2 separate regions of the Homo sapiens genome follow, and region 1 is linked to region 2. Evidence: promoter capture Hi-C in 16 types of primary human blood cells and fetal thymus (Javierre and others, 2016). All regions are on one chromosome and are shown on one strand. The core of a region is centred on a gene start or on the middle of the fragment in contact, and the rest is flanking DNA. Distances in the headings are between cores, read along the strand shown.

Evidence for each region. Contacts are between HindIII fragments. The CHiCAGO score rates a contact against its expected background, and 5 or more counts as called.
Region 1: a fragment that was not itself captured here is called in contact with the fragment with the promoter of THEM5 in region 2 in 2 of 17 cell types (M2 macrophages and M1 macrophages); the score reaches 5.8 in M2 macrophages.

The regions. Positions count from the first base shown.
Region 1 is chr1:151,739,822-151,742,521 of GRCh38, reverse strand. No RefSeq gene overlaps it. Among named protein-coding and RNA genes, the nearest start is that of RIIAD1, 20 kb to the right of the region's middle. The HindIII fragment of the contact is 1,762 bases long and covers 518-2,279 here.
Region 2 is chr1:151,852,205-151,854,981 of GRCh38, reverse strand. It overlaps THEM5 (thioesterase superfamily member 5), which reads left to right and starts at 1,270. Exons shown (of 6, transcript NM_182578.4): 1 at 1,270-1,539; 2 at 2,523-2,724. The coding sequence starts at 1,417. The HindIII fragment of the contact is 9,012 bases long and covers 1-2,777 here.

The DNA.
Region 1 (2,700 bases), core at 149-2,648, 110 kb after region 2:
TTGACTCTGGCATCCTATTGTCCCTCTGCTACTAGTAAGCCCAGCTCTGTGACCGTATACCCTATGTCAGCCCTGGCCTACAGAGAACAGCCAACCCTGAGCTTCTCTTACCAGCACATTCTTCATCACTTCAAGAAATTGAGTATTCTTTCCACGCCCAGCCTCGCATGCCCACTCTTTTGAGCCTTTTAAAGAAAGTGAATATTCTTTGGGATGTCTGATGAAACATAAGCATTTGGTGAGTTTTCTGACTTTACATATTAATTCTAGCATACCCACTCTTTCTTTTTTAAATAGAGATGGGGTCTTATTATGTTGCCCAGGCTGTGCTTGAACTCCTGGGCTCAAGCAGTCCTCCTACCTCAGCCTCCCAAAGTGCTGGGATTACAGGCATGAGCCACCACACCCGGCCTAGCAGGCCCACTCTTTTGAGCCATTTAACACCTCTTCCACTATATGCCACAGCACTCCTCACACGCCTACTTCACTTAATGTGGGCCATGACTTTCTCCAAGCTTCCCAGAGCCATCCCACTGTAACCAAAACAGGTTCAGTTGCTTGCTGCTTACAGAGTCCAATTAACAAAAGCAAGGTCTGGTATAAAGAAAGCGACTTTTTATTCCAAAGCTAGCTTAGGGGAAGAAGGTATAGCCTCCGGCTTTTAGGGTACCACTTCACTCTTGGAGCAGAAAACAGGTGCTTTTAAAAGGGGACCTGGCATGCTGACATGAATGGCATGCAGGGGAAGAAGCAGGCAGCTGGGGTGCCTGCATACTCGCTTTGGTGCCTTGTCTACTGGGTGGCCGAGCTGGTGACTACTGGCACCTTCATGGGCAGGACTAGGTTGCCAAAGCAGCCAAAAACTCTCCAGGTGAGAGAGTCTCATAGCAGGCATACATTGGCTTGTAGATGGACTTGTAGGTTGTCTCTTCAGGTAACCTCCTGCTTGGGTGAGAGTTCTGCTCTGGGACTTCTAAACACACAGTTAGATGAACTTGCCCTGTAGGGAGTGTCTGGTGAAGAGGAGGTAAAAGGCTATAACTGCATTTCTAAATGCAGTTATAGGGGAAAAGCAGAAAAGAGAAAAAGAGAGAAAAAAATAAACTATCTCTTGGAAAATGGGGTACTCAGTTACACTATCAGAATGTTAGCAACATCTCTTAGGGTCTTTGTCAGAGTACTAAATCCCATATCCTAAGAATGGGCTCCCATAGGCCAGGCGCAGTGGCTCATGCCTGTAATCCCAGCACTTTGGGAGGCTGAGGCGGGGCGGATCGCAAGGTCAGGAGTTTGAGACCAGCCTGGCCAACACGGTGAAACCCCATCTTTACTAAAAATACAAAAATTAGCCGGGCATGATGGCAGGCATGTGCCTGTAATCCCAGCTACTCAGGAGGTTGAAGCAGGAGAATCGCTTGAAACCGGAAGGTGGAGTTTTCAGTGAGCTGAGATCACACCACTGCACTCCAGCCTGGGCAACAAGAGTGACACTCTGTCTTAAAAAAAAAAAAAAGAATGGGCTCCCATATCCATACACTCTCCCTTATCAAACTTTATGTCCCACCCTCCTTGATCCAACACCCTCAGAATCCAGTCCCATACATCTCCAACCTGTATTTGCTAGTTAGGTCCTCTTGAACCTCCAGGGCATGGTGCATTTTTTCTCTTAGGGGAATCTTAGCTGAGTTCTAAAAGTACTTAATCCTAGTTATTGGTTTGCAGATCAGGAGAGGAGGTGGGGTAGGTTTTGAAGGGAACCTGTGTGGTCTTGCAAGCCAGAGGCTTCTCTATCATCCTTAAGCAAGGAAGTAGTGATAGCCTTTACCAGGAACAAGTGGGCACTTTTGCAGGCCCAAAAGATGGAGAATTTAAAAATTCAAGATTTTTTAAAGCATTAACCCAGCTGCCCCCACTCCTATGTCTCAGGGTCTCACTCCTTCTTGCCAGTGTTAAGAATTCAACCTTCTTTGGAGCCCTGCTACTGTTACAATTAAATATTGGACCTTATTCTCAATTTTGGGGGGCCTCTAGATACAAAAGATAAAAAATGTCTTTTAAATTGCTAAGGAGGGCCTTGGGCTTTCACTCTTAGCCTTTATTTGGTGATCAATCACCCTCAACCTTTCATTGCCTTTGTCCAATGCATTGATTGCCTCCAGCTAGCCATCCAATTCCATTGTCTTTATAAAACCTGATATATTTATCAGACCTGATATATTTCCCCCACTAAGCATTGCTTTCCCCCAGGATCCCATCCCAGTTCAGCACTAGTGAAAGCTTTGACAGTTGCACTGATACCTTGCTGGGGAATCTCCATGCTCCACCTACTGCCAGTGGCCCTCCCTGCCAGCGGCCAACAGGTATTTCCAGTTTAGAATCTCATTTTAGAATCTGCTTCCTCAGCACTCTTGGCACTGACTGTCAGGCTGGGTTCCTCGGGAAATATACTCTCAGATGGAGATTTGAGTAAAAGCAGTTCATTGAGTCGTGCTCTCAGGATCAACAACACTGGGAGAAAGTGAAGGCCTTAGAACTGGACAGCAGGAACTCAGGAACTGTTGTGGCCCTGCAGAGTTGTCCCCCACTGAGACAAGGAAATCAGAATCATGCAGGGGAATATACTTCCACATTGACCAGTAGATGCAGACTGTCTTAGGAGGGGGCATAATCTTGAATGAATTTTCACTTAAGGGTAACTCC
Region 2 (2,777 bases), core at 21-2,520:
CCACCACCAAATCCCACTGCCTTGCAGATGTTGGCTGAGTGTCCCTTCCCACTCAACAAAGCCTCACTGCCGCGCCCACCTCACTCCCAGCACTGCCTGCTGACATGAGCCACTCCCTGGGCACGGGGTTCCCAAAACATGAGAGTATCCCTGCCAAGCTGTTTCCTCCCAAATTATTTTCTGCCCTCCCTGTCAAGCCCTCCCCCACCTCCAACTCCTATCCCCAGCCAGAGACCAGCAGGTGAAACTCTCCTGTGCTAACCCTTGTCCGGGATATAAGAAGAGGTGTTGGCCGGGTGCGGTGGCTCACGCCTGTAATCCCAGCACTTTGGGAGGTCACCTGAGGTCAGGAGTTCAAGACCAGCCTGGCTAACATGGCAAAACCCCATCTCTACTAAAAAAAATATACAAAATTTAGCTGGGTGTGGTGGTGTGTGTCTGTAATCCCAGCTACTCAGGAGGCTGAGGCAGGAGAATCACTTGAACCCAGGAGGCGGAGGTTGCAGTGAGCCGAGATCACGCCATTGCACACCAGCCTGGGCGACAAGATTGAAACTCCGTCTCACCAAAAAAAAAAAAAAAAAAAAAAAAGAGGTGTCTAAGGCTGTGAGTTGGTTTTCTTTTTTTTTATTTTTTTATTTTTATTTTTTTGAGACGGAGTCTCGCTCAGTCGCCCAGGCTGGAGTGCGGTGGCTAGATCTCAGCTCACTGCAAGCTCCACCTCCCAGGTTCACGCCATTCTCCTGCCTCAGCCCCCTGCGTAGCTGGGACTACCGGCACCCGCCACCACGCCCGGCTAATTTTTTGTATTTTTTTTAGTAGAGACGGGGTTTCACCGTGTTAGCCAGGATGGTCTCGATCTCCTAACCTCGTAATCCGCCGCCTCGGCCTCCCAAAGTGCTGGGATTACAGGCGTGAGCCACCGCACCCGGCCTGTGAGTTGGTTTTCTGAGTCACAAAATCATACCAGAGTTTTCAGAGTCCGGTATACACTGCAGAGCACATACCAAGAACACTCCACCAGCACCCTCCAATCAAGGGACAGGCTTCCCTTATCCTTCTGGAAATATTCTTGGATTCTCCCTCAGAACCCCCAGGCAGCTCTCCAAGGCTCTATATACCCCATACTATTTGTTTATGTACTTGTTTACTCCTTTTGCAACTCAAGCCAGTCCTGCTGCCTTTTCATGCCCAAGCAGCATCTGTCCCTCCCCAAGCACTGGGTGGGGCTCCTAGACCAGCTAAAGGCGCCGAGCATCTGTGGGTGTTGCAGCACACCAGCCCAGCCTCGCCTAGCTCTCTGAAAGAAAGCCTGCAACAGAAGGGAGAGAAGCGGCCCCAAGTGCAGCTGAAAGCACTCCTTGGGAGTCAGCCAAGACCCTCCATCCAAGCAGGGCTGGATCCTTGCACTTGGCCATGATAAGGAGATGCTTCCAGGTGGCAGCAAGACTTGGCCACCACAGAGGCCTTCTTGAGGCCCCCCGTATCCTGCCCAGACTCAACCCTGCCTCAGCATTTGGATCCTCCACAGACTCCATGGTGAGTTCCCAGCTCAGCCAGATGGGCAGTGTTTTCCCAGGAGCCTAGGGCTTAAGGAGCACCCCAAATCTCCTCTTCCCAGCCCATGGCCAGGGCAGGTGGGCAGTGTTCGGAGGAGCTATTTGATTTGGCAAAGAGAAAGTGCTCTGGGATACCAAGTTGCCCCCATTCAAAACTAAAACTACCAGGAGACCTGCATCTGGCTCTGTGTCTTGTGTGGCCACCAACAAATGACTTTCCTCCTGTGGGACTCAGACTACTGCAGCAAAGCTGGGGTATCCCCAGACAGAGGACCCCATCTGTGGCATTGGCAAGCAGCTCACATGCTGTCTACAGTTGTGACTGGTGTATGAGCAGGTGACGCTACAGAGGACTTCCTTACGTCACACAGATGGGCACATAGTCTGTGCCCCAGCCATGGCACCACACCTCTGTGGGGGCCCAAATGTGTTTCAAAGGAGCCACCCTGCCCAGGCAGGCCCACAGCAGTGGGCAGAGCTGGAGTAGCCCCTGAGGTGGGGGTTGCTAGAATGGTCCTCAACAACTGTGACCCTGCCCTGCAGAGGAGACAGCATCTAGTGCGACCACCAGCTCTCACAGTCACATGCTTGGCAACCTTGGCCGTATTCCCTCAGTTTCCCCATCTGTACAGTGAGGCTAATATGAGCAGTTGTCAACTTTAAAGAACTGCTCACATGTTTTAAGCAGAACAAGGGTAAGGCACCACATCGAGCAGCATGCCCATCATCTCTGGCCCCACTCCCTGCCCGCCCTTCCCTTGCTCTTTAGCATCCTTATGCCCCGTCACCCATAGGGGTCCGCAGCCCCCCTGCAAGGAATATGGGCCCTTTCCCTTGGATCGATACTCTGGCAGAAGGGATTGAGAAGCCCCAGCACCCAGGAACAGCTGTTTAGAGGTCCCGAGCCCAGGCAGCAGCCCCCCTCCAGGATGCTGTCTAGTCATTCTGATTTTTCCTGCCCAGTTCTCAAGATTCTTGCCAGAGAAGACAGACTTGAAGGATTATGCTCTTCCCAATGCCAGCTGGTGTTCGGACATGCTGAGCCTGTACCAAGAATTTCTGGAGAAGACTAAGTCTAGCGGCTGGATCAAGCTGCCCTCCTTCAAGTCCAACAGAGACCACATCCGGGGACTCAAGCTCCCATCTGGACTGGCAGTTTCCTCAGGTAAGGACAGGACCATGAGTACACACACCCCAGCCGCCCTTCCCTGTGTTCTA